Linked DNA regions of Homo sapiens: regions 1 and 3 are each linked to region 2. Evidence: promoter capture Hi-C in 16 types of primary human blood cells and fetal thymus (Javierre and others, 2016). All regions are on one chromosome and are shown on one strand. Each heading gives the region's core, a stretch centred on a gene start or on the middle of the fragment in contact. The rest is flanking DNA. Distances are from core to core; before and after follow the strand shown. Region 1 overlaps ASB11 (ankyrin repeat and SOCS box containing 11). Region 2 holds the start of PIR (pirin). Region 3 has its middle 6.3 kb from the start of PIGA.

The links. The method cuts DNA at HindIII sites, captures the fragments that hold promoters and counts their contacts. A CHiCAGO score of 5 or more calls a contact.
Region 1: a contact is called between a fragment that was not itself captured here and the fragment with the promoter of PIR in region 2, in 2 of 17 cell types (M2 macrophages and endothelial precursors). The highest score is 6.2, in M2 macrophages.
Region 3: a fragment that was not itself captured here is called in contact with the fragment with the promoter of PIR in region 2 in 1 of 17 cell types (neutrophils); the score reaches 5.7 in neutrophils.

Annotation. Positions count from the first base shown.
Region 1 is chrX:15,297,934-15,301,630 of GRCh38, reverse strand. The region is part of intron 2 of ASB11 (ankyrin repeat and SOCS box containing 11); the gene reads left to right. Among named protein-coding and RNA genes, the nearest start is that of ASB11, 16 kb to the left of the region's middle. RefSeq lists an enhancer at 3,110-3,404. The HindIII fragment of the contact is 1,257 bases long and covers 1,796-3,052 here.
Region 2 is chrX:15,492,014-15,495,653 of GRCh38, reverse strand. PIR (pirin) reads left to right here and starts at 2,321. Exons shown (of 10, transcript NM_001018109.3): 1 at 2,321-2,464. RefSeq lists enhancers at 1,905-2,408, 2,409-2,911. The HindIII fragment of the contact is 4,696 bases long and covers 631-3,640 here.
Region 3 is chrX:15,340,109-15,343,593 of GRCh38, reverse strand. No RefSeq gene overlaps it. Among named protein-coding and RNA genes, the nearest start is that of PIGA, 6.3 kb to the right of the region's middle. The HindIII fragment of the contact is 3,884 bases long and covers 1-3,485 here.

The DNA.
Region 1 (3,697 bases), core at 1,175-3,674, 190 kb after region 2:
TTCTTCCACAACTAGGCAATCATCTGGCTTTCTTGCTACTTTGAATTTAAACCACTGGGTGCACTGCTCTCTCTCTCTCTTTTTCTTTCTCTCTCTCTCTCTGTCTCTCTCTCTCTGTCTGTGTGTGCATGTGTATGTATTTTTCATTTATTTGTTTTTTGATTTCTCCTTTATGAGTTGTGTTACTTCTTAAAAAGTAGAGGTAAATGGAAATCAGCACTGCCAGCAATGATCAAATGAACTTTGTACCTGATTTTATCACTTGCTTATTTATTTTTAAGTACTTTAAATTGGATGTGATTTGATTATTTTTAATAGGTAATATATTCACATAGTTCAAAAATTACAATTATTTAAAAAGGTGGACTGGCCGGATGTGGTGGCTCACGCCTGTAATCCTAGCACTTTAGGAGGCCAAGGTGGGTGGATCACCTGAGGTCAGGAGTTCGAGACCAGCCTGGGCAACATGGTGAAACCCCATCTGTACTAAAAGTACAAAAATTAGCCAGGCGTGGTGGTGGGCGCCTATAATCCCAGCTACTTGGGAGGCTGAGGCAGGAAAATCGTTTGAACCTGGCGGGGTGGAGGTTGCAGTGAACCGAGATCGCGTCACTTCACTCCAGCCTGGGTGAAAGAGTGAAACTCTGTCTCAATAAAATAAATAAATAAATAAAATTAAAAAGGTGCACAATGAAACGTCTTGCACCCACCTCTTCTCTCTCAGTCTCCCACCCACCTCTTCTCTCTCAGTCTCCCACCTCAATACTTTCATTGGTATATTTTTAATAGGCTTTTTAAATTTTTGTATAATTTTAAAGAAGAGTTGAAAAGGATACAGACAGTTCCCATATACACTGTACCCTTCACCCAACTTCCTTTAATATTGACATCTTACATAGCTATGGTACATTAGTCAAAAATACGAAGTTAACATTGATACAATACCACTGACTAAACTGCACACTATTGTGATTTCACCAGTTTTTCCTCTCATGTCCTATTTCTGTTCCAGGATCCCACATTGCACTAACTATACTTAATAAGCATATTAGCTTCAATAATATGGTTAAATGTGTAAGGGGGCATTCTTTATACAAAAGTTCAACTTTTTCTTTTACACCCCTACTTCTTTACTCTTATACACTGTTAAAAAATGTATTTGTCTACTTTTATAAACTTTATTTTACATTTAGATAATATGATCGATGTGAGTAAAACATTAAACCGATATGAGTAAAACATTAAGCTAATGTGAGTAAATGTGAGTAAAACATTAAACCAAGATTCAGGAGCTCTTGGTTACACTGCTGGCTGTCACTGACAACCAGTCTTAAAAAGTATTTGAACATTCTACTCCTCCATTTTCTCATGCACAATTGAGGTGATCCACTCTAGATGATCTTTCAGGCCTTTCCAGCATCACATTTCTACAATTTCAGGGATTCTGAGATTTTGCACCGTAACAGTTTTTTCTAGCACACTTCTGCCACCTTGTGGACTAGTCTGTTTTTTCTTATTTTCTCAAAAGGAAAAGAAAAATGAAAAGACTTTTTCTAACTCTTATTAGATGCCCAGTTTGAAATATGTAGCACAGATCTAGAGTAATGATGTCATATTCAGGACATGAAAATAGACAGAATTCAGGAGTCAAAAAGAGGCCTTATGATGAAGGGACAATTCTGGGAAATCACAGCTGCTGGCCACAGCAAGGATGCAGCCAGAGATCTGGCAGGAGATGGTGGCCGTGTAAGTAGGAGTTCGGGGTTCAGGGTCATGGCATTGGGTTTTGGAAGCTTTCAGTTGGTCAGTTACAAGGCATAGGATCAAAAGCAGGACTCGGCTGGGAAGGACAGACCAGGGACCTAATTCCTTTTATAAATCAAAAATAAAATTCTAAGCACCCCCTCTCCAACCATCTGAATGTACCCCTCCTCTCAGCCAGGGCATTCCAAAACTAACCTGAAAAACTGGTTCAGGCCATGACAGGAAAGGGGGGTTGAACATGCCTCATTATACCCTCCTCCCTTTTGGAACTCAGGAAAAGATGACCAGAATTTAACATCAACACAGACCTTAAGTCTGATAAGAAACATTTACAATCTATTCTCTCTGAAGCCTGCTACCTGGAGGCTTCATCCACATGATAAAACTTTTGTCTCCACAACCCCTTATTGTAACCCAGACAGACATTTCTATTGATAATAACTCTTTCAACCAATTGCCAATCAGAAAAATTTTCAATCTGTCTATAATCTGGAGCCCCAGGCCCCCACTTTGAGTTGTCCAACCTTCCCAGGCCAAACAAATGTACATTTTACATGTATTTGATTGATGTCTCATGTTTCCCTAAAATGTATAAAACTAGGCTGTGCCCTGACTACCCTGGGCACATGTTCTCTGGATCTCCTGAGAGCTTGTCACAGGCCATTGGTCACTTATATTTGGCTCAGAATAAATCTCTTCAAATATTTTATAGTTTGACTGTTTTTGTCAACACTTTTGCAGATAGAACGTGATCATCAGAGGGAGGGAAATGGTAAGAGCCAAGTTGTTAAAATCAGGTTATGAAGTCAGAGTTGTCCAGCAGCTAGGCTGACCTTGTCATCTGTCACATGGAGTCCAGGACAAGGAAGGGGACACATGGTAGTATGGGGAGGGAGAATGTGTTAGGACAGGGTGGAGGCACTCATACCTGGGTGAGGAGATGAAGGTTAGGAGAAGTCCGCTGGCCCCGGACTCTAGGACTTCAGAGACCTCTGCACACAGTGGAGTCATGGCTGAAGCAGTGCTGCTACTCCACAGCACATGAATCCTAGGAGCACAGTCTACTTACTCTTAAGCCTGGGAGTTATTGTTTTGTTTCAGATCCAGCTCGACCTCCTGAACTTGTCTGCACTCCATCATCTATACCTCATACCTACTGTTATTCACAGCCACAGCAGGCCCATGCCAGCCTGTTCCTAGACTCATAGTGACATCTCTGTGGCTCTCCTTGCTTTGGTCTTACATCCCTACTCCTGCAATCAACCCTCCATGCTGCTACCAGTAAGCTTCTAAAAAGGCTAATCTATTAGCTCCAGACCCTCCGCAGCCTAGCAGACTTCATAGGTGCTCCATTTCCTCTAAGACATGCCCTCCTTGTTTGGAAATCAAGGCCTTTCATGACCTAGCTCCAGCTTACTGTCCTCCTTTGTCTCCTCCCATCTCCTGCTTCTACTTTCTGTGGGTTCTTTCTGTTCCAGAAATCCGACTGTGGCCCTGCCACAGGAAGCAACAGGAAGCAACAGGAAATAACTTCCTGTTGCTTCCTGAATTTGCAGTTTCTATTCTCTCCTAATGGCATACTCTTTCTTGGTCTTCACAGCTTGAAACATTTTATGCTTCAAGTCTTAGCTAAATACTACCTCATTTGCAAGGTTTTTCTTACTCCCCAAGCCAGATTCAAGGATATCCTATGCTCCCAAACTAATTTTGGACATGCTTCCAGTATAGCAATATTCTTGCTCTTTTGTCTTTCATTTCTGCCTCCCCAGTAGGCTCTGGGAGAAGAGAGACCCATGTCATAAGTTTTGAAGACCCAGGTCCTAGTACATTACCTGCTCCAGAATGCAGAATTAACATTCTTTTGGATAAATGAATGTGAGGCTGTCATGCTGTCTTTAGGCTCCCCTGATCGTAACTTCTACTTCTCTCTCTA
Region 2 (3,640 bases), core at 1,072-3,571:
ATGTCCATGTACTTTTTTTTTTTTTTTTTTAATTTTTGAGACTGAGTTTCACTCTTGTTGCCCAGGCTGGAGTGCAATGGCACGACCTCGGCTCACGGCAACCTCCGTCTCCTGGGTTCAAGCAATTCTCCTGCCTCAGTCTCCCGAGTAGCTGGGATTAGAGGCATGCGCCCCCACGCCTGGCTAATTTTGTACTTTTAGTAGAGACAGGGTTTCTCCATTTTGGTCAGGCTGGTCTCGAACTCCCGACCTCAGGTGATCTGCCTGCCTCGGCCTCCCAAAGTGCTGGGATTACAGGCGTGAGCCACCGCGCCTGGCCCCATGTACTTCTATAATATGTATCTTTGAAAAGAAATTCAATAAGTTTTACAGAGGAGGAAAATGGAATTCGTGAATAAAAAAGAAAAGAGTCAAGGTACCTAAATAATGTGGTTGTCTTTAAAGATTATAATGGTGTTATTTGGAATCATTTAGGGAAGGCTTTGTTCATTGTCATATCAGCATGAGTTTTCTTTATGCTTCCCAAGATTCCAAAGGTGATCAACAGTCCATCTACACACTCATATATTTAGCCACCTACTCCACATCTTGATCTGGATGTCAATGACAGTGTGAAAAGTGCTCAAAGCTTAATATACAGGGTCACATTTCTCATCTCAAAACAGGACCCTGTTACAGTGAAACATTATACGCCCTTTGTTCATTTGTAAGAATTCTTCCCTCTCTCACCTTTGTTTCTCCTCATTTTAAGTCTTCTACCTTTTCAGACTTGTTCTTTTTTCTTTTCTTTTCTTTTTTCTGCAGGGGCCTGTAAATGGAATTCCTGCATTGCTCTAACCATGTACAACCTTGGACTTAGCTTTTACCTGTAACTGGCTTCTGAGAGACAAAGAGGAGAAACGTTCACTCCTAGTACACCTATTACAGCTGCAGAGGTAGAGGAGACAGTTGCAGAACTAGTTACAATGACGATAAGAAACAATACTTTGTTATTCCATAGCACCTTTAATGTTCATGTGTATTATCTCAGCTAGCCTTGAACTGCCTAAGTAAGGTGATGAGGACGGGTTTAAGCCCCACTGATATTTTAAAAGCCCAGAGAAAAGTGTTCGTTCCTCTACTAACCTGTTCTTTTAGAGCAGGGATCTGCATACTAGGCCTGCAGCCAAAATGAGTAGGTAGCCCACTACCTATTTTTGTATAGCCAGAGGGCTAAGAATGGTTTTTACATTTTAAGTGGTTTTACATTTAAGATCAAAAGAAGGATAATATTTCATGACAAGTAAAAATTATATGAACTCAAAATTGTATGAATTTTATGAATTTATATTTCAGTATTCATAATTAAAGTTTTATTGAACTACAGCCACATTCATTTATTTACATGTTATCTATGGCTGCTTTCTTGCTACAAAGGCAAACTGGAGAATGTACATGGCCTGCAAAGTCAAAGTATTTACTATCTGGTCCTTCACAGACAAAGTTTTCCAACCTTATTTTAGAGACACCACTGTCTTTCCTTTCTCAAAACCAGGCAATGAGCCTTCTGGTGTTTAGAGAATAGAAACTGCAGCTATGCCTGTACCACTAGTTAATAATCCTAGTAATCAACTAGATCCCCTCACTGGCTTGTGCCAGCTCCTCATTCTTCTGGAAAAACTCTCCAACGCCTGCCCACTGTGTTCCAACACCATACAAACTCTTAACCAATTATCTCCCCACTAGAGTGTGCCTTCTCTTCAGGCAGGAATAAAGACGTATGGCTGCCCGTCCCCACTCCCGCACTCCTTTTCTCGCAATTCTAACTGACAAACAGCAGGCAACTTATCTATGGAACAAACGATTCTGTAGTGCTTAGAATGTGACAGGCTCATTTAATTCTCATTTCAGCCCGATAAGGCTGGCACTATTATCATCACCATCCTCATTTTATAGAGGAGGAACCAGAGGCACAGAGAGACTGAGCCACCTGTCCCAGGTCATGTCAAGTGGTGCCTCCCAGCGGTGGAGGCAGCACTGGAATCCGTGCCGCCAAGCTCCGCCGGCTGGGTGACAGGGAGACTACAGTTAAAAACAGATTTCCCACAAGACCGACCGGAGCGCCGATCAGAGCACCTGCCCGGGCCACACATTTCCTCCTGGAGCACAGCAAGTGCCGCCTAAATTACCCGAGTGAGCATCTCTTCCCGGCACGAGAGGCAGGGAGGCCAAAGGGCCGCCAAGCTGGCCTGGGAGAGGCGTAGGGCGGAGCGAGAGTGGAGTGACATTCCCGAGGGCGGAGCCCCAGGGCCTCCGAGACCCGTAGACTCCCGCCTCCCGCCTCCTCTAGGCCGCCGGCCGCGAAGCGCTGAGTCACGGTGAGGCTACTGGACCCACACTCTCTTAACCTGCCCTCCCTGCACTCGCTCCCGGCGGCTCTTCGCGTCACCCCCGCCGCTAAGGCTCCAGGTGCCGCTACCGCAGCGTGAGTACCTGGGGCTCCTGCAGGGGTCCACTAGGTGAGGGAATGCTGGCGGTCAGTTTGCAAAATCCTGCCTTCCCCAGCTCACTTTAGACTCCTAGGGGAGATAACAAGAGATACTTAAATTGTACTACGAAATTTGGTGAAAATGGTAGACGGCTTTTCTTTCTGCAAAGCACTGAGATCTAAGTACCTCATCAGTTGTTCACATGCATACAATTTAATCGTAGGAGTCTGGAAGGACCCAGACATAATCTAGATGGGGATAAAGATACTTTCTGGTTGCTTCGATGTAGGTGATGACCGGCCTGTACTGCTTTGAGTATTAAGCTCGTTTCTGCGCCTTGCAACCTATCACCCAATAAATATTTATCGATTACTATTCAGGGAGGATACATTTTAGGGTAGGCCTTGACTAAGTGGAGGGTATTGTGGAGTAGAGCCCTTCTGAATAACAGCAGCTAACATTCTCATAGCACTAACTGCACCCCTTTGAGGTAGGCGGTCTTATCATTCCATTTTACAGATAAAACTGAGCCACAGAAAACCTCAGGTCACACAGCTGATATGTGGTGAAGCTGAGATGCAAACCTAGGCTGTCTGGTTCCAGAGTCTGCTTTTTGCCAAAGCACCTCTCTTCGTTTCAGTAGGAATCTTTGAAGGAATTGGGTATATTTCACTTGAAGAAAAGATTTAAGGGATTGGGGGTACTGTCTGCAAACACTTGAAGTGGAATAGGGATAGATTATATTCCTTCTGGGATAGTCCATTAGAACCTAGACCTCCCAAAGAGGAAAAGACTTTCGAATAACAAACTCTGGCTATAGGTAAGTCCTGAAATATGAGATACATTGCCAAGAACAGCTGGTCCATGACTTGCCTATGCTCTAGGAGACTTCATGAGTAAGCTGAAAGATTTCTTGCCCAAAATGTTGGCCCTGAACTTCAGGAATAGATGGGTCTTTGAATTCAATGACCCTCGAAGATCTCTTTTAATGCCAAGATCTTCAGCATGTTCTGGTAAGAGTTAGGGACCTCTTTGTTTTTCTCCATTTTCTCTAAGGCGCCACACAAACCTGCCCCCATCTGTCAGCCTCATTGGTAGCAACTACCTCATGGGTGCTACCAGTGAGGCTGACAGATGAGTGGCACTGGGGAAGGGGTGGGAGATCGAGAGAA
Region 3 (3,485 bases), core at 636-3,135, 150 kb after region 2:
ACTCAAACCATGTTTTGGCTCGAAATGCCTCTGGCTTCATAATTGCCATTTAGATGGAGATTATCATAGGGAATTCTAAGCTAAGCCAAAACTCAATGTGATCTGGCTTTGTGCTTCTAAAACCCCTCCCTCTTCTTCCTCCTTAATTCCCAATTACCATCAAGATCTGCACTTGGATCCCTGACGCTGGGTCAGGATGGGTCTGGTCCTTGAGGGCGGAGGTGGGGTAACTGGCCTGTTGCTTTCTTAGAGTTCACTAGACATTGCACAGGAATATTTGTCATACTAACAGCCCTGGAACGTGAGTTGAAAATCCTCAACTTGTTGCAAAATAAAAGTATGTGAGAAACTCCAAGAGCTTTAAGCAAACACAATAAATGCCAGCAATGCATGATGTCCCTGATTACGCCACAGGGCCAGAGAATTATTAATGTGACAGCACACGTCATAAATCTATGACTAAAACAGTGTGGCAGGAGGCCCTTTAGAGATGGAAACAGATTAGGCAGCATGATGATCAGAGTTGAATGAAGATTAAAATACTGTCTGAGAGACTTGATAAAGGAAATTATACAAACATTACGTTTTAATGCCCTTAAGAAAAGCCATAGTTCAGTGAAAATTGTGAGCTTAATAGATTTGGTCAGCAAGAGCTGGACTTTGCCTAATTTAGTCTTAATCCTCAGTGTGAGAACAATGTCTTGCATATATTAGGTACTCAATAAATATTTAATAAATAATAAGTTATTACATTGATTTTGTGGCCAGCCAATGAAATTATCTCTTTAAAAAGTGAAGAGTAATTTTACATAGCTCATGTTTTTCAAACTCAGCTAAATTATATGCATGTCTGAATTATTCAGATGTTGCAACTCTAGAAAGGAATTTAATCTATTCTCAAAATATTTATGAAATGAAAAGGAGCAAAAAAATTCTGTTATTTGACCCTTATTAATGGCTTCATGAAAGAAAGTCTGCCTTTGGTAATTTTATCACTGATATTGTTCTGAAACAGTGGTCAGTAAGCTATGGCCCATAGGCCACTTTCAGCTCACTGCCTGTTGTTTTGGTAAATACTGCTTTATTGGAACACAGTTATGCTCATTTGTTGATGTATTGTCTATGGCTACTTTTATTCTACAACAGCAGAGTTGAGTAGTTGGGGACAGAGACTGTTTGGCTTGCAATGCCTAAAATATTTACTCTTTGGTCCATTACAGAAAAAGTTAGCCAACCGCTTGTGTAAAAATATTTCTTATTTTATCACGTCATCAATGAACATTAAATATAATGAATTAGACTGCTTCTTGAACCCCTATAAGAAATGGCACTTTTACCTGGCCTTGATCGATTGTTGGAATCAACTGGCCTCACCTTATTTGAGTCATTGTGTAGTGTGCAACCCAATGAAGCTAAAAAGTTACAGTGATTTAAATTTCAGGTTTCCACAATTCAAATAAAGTCATGGATACATTTATTGATGGGTTCTAGTTATGTTTGTGGTATAGCTCTAAAATGTTAGTGTTGATGGCGTGGACTCTAAATAGAGATAGTGCATAAACATATTAGTTTTTTTTTTGTTTGTTTGTTTTTTCTCTTTTTTCCAATGCCCTGGGTAAAGTAAATACTCCTAAAGAGTAAGGGGATTTTTTTTTTTTTTTTTGAGACAGAGTCTCACTCTGTCACCCAGGCTGGAGTGCAGTGGCACAATCTTGGCTCACTGCAACCTCTGCCTCCCAAGTTCAAGTGATTCTGCTGCCTCAGCCTCCTGAGTAGCTGAGATTACAGGCTACAGGCACCCGCCACCATGCCTAGCTAATTTTTGTATTTTTTAGTAGAAACGGAGTTTCACTATGTTAGCCAGGATGGTCTCGATCTCCTGACCTTGTGATCCACCCGCCTCGGCCTCCCAAAGTGCTGGGATTACAGGCGTGAGCCACCGCACCCGGACCAGGATTTTTTTTTTTTTTTTAAAGCATAAGCCCGCAAGGACAGGGTAAATGATAAAGTCAACAGAAACAACAATGTTCTGAAAGCTGAAAAGCACGTAGATAAGTTGTAAATGATGTGGCCGACCTGAAAAAAAAAATAATTTAAGCCAACAGTCTGGAAAGATGAGTTCCCAAAAGGCTCAGAAGTGGGTGTCCCAAGCACCTCTAGAAATGGGAGGGATGAGAGGGGTGCTAAAATGAGGTTCATTCCAAAAATCTGTATAAGAAACAGTTTGATCCCAAATCTTCTCCCACATTCCCTGTGGTGGAGTGACTGCTCCTTCCAACCCCAGGCAAAAGATGGGTTATTAGTCGTTTGGCTAAGGTAAAAGAGAGAGCATCCTGAATGGGGGATGCCTGACATCCATGAGGGCAGGGTGCTGAACTAACAAGAGGATTAAGTGAACGCGTACATACTAGGTGCAACCACAATTCAGGCAGTTGGATCTGTACTGGAAAAGTATTTCTCTAGGGGGAATCTTACCAGCCTAAGAGAAAAGACCTAAAAAGGACTGAAATTAGCTGGGGGAGGGACTATCAAATGGAACAGCCCAAAGAGGTCATCAAGCCCCATTCCTGGGCTCAGACCTCAGATCAGCTCCTTTGTCCCTTTCTTTTAAGTATGAGCAAGCAAGCATGAATTCCCAGACCTCCAGGGAAAATTTCTAACATGAAAGACAGAGAGTAAAACACACAGAAAAAGGCAATTTGGAGGAAACAGAAGAAAACTTCAAATCATTAATAGCCAGGGGATGAGGGAAGAAGGTGAGACAGTGCAACTAATAAATAAAATGAAGGTGTTATTAAAAAAGAAAATGTCAGAGGACATAATTGAGCCCTAGGAAACTAAAACTATTATAATAAATTGAAAATTCAATAGAACAAAAAAGGAAGACAGAGTTGAAGAAATTTCCTATGAAGTAGAATAAATAAGAAATTAAAAGTGAAAAGATAAGAAGGTCTAACATCAGAATAACTGAAGTTACAGGAAATGAGAAGAGACACAATAGGAGATGTAATCAACAATTTAAAAATTCAAGAGAATTTCGAAGCACATGAGTTGGCAAGTGAAAAGGCTCTCTGAGTCCCTAGTCCAAAAGGTGAAACTATGCCTATACCAAGGCACAAAATGATGAAATTTCAGGACACGGGAGACTAAGAGATAATGTATAAGTTTCCAGAGTAAAGAAAAATTATGATAACTTCAAACAAAGGGCCAGGAATCCGAATGAAATTAGTTTTCTCAATAGCAACACCAAAAGCTAGCAGGCTAGAGCAATGCTGCTAAACTTCTGAAGGAAAATAATTTCTGGCCTACTATTTGGCACCCAAACTATCAATAAAATTGGAGGGCTGAAAAATAAATTTTCAGACATTAAAGTTCTTAGAAAATCTCCCGATCTCCCATGCAGTCTTCTTTAGGAGGCTACTGGAGGACGGTCTTCAAAAAAGGGTGCTAAAACGAAAAGGAAGACATCACTCAAACAAATCCCA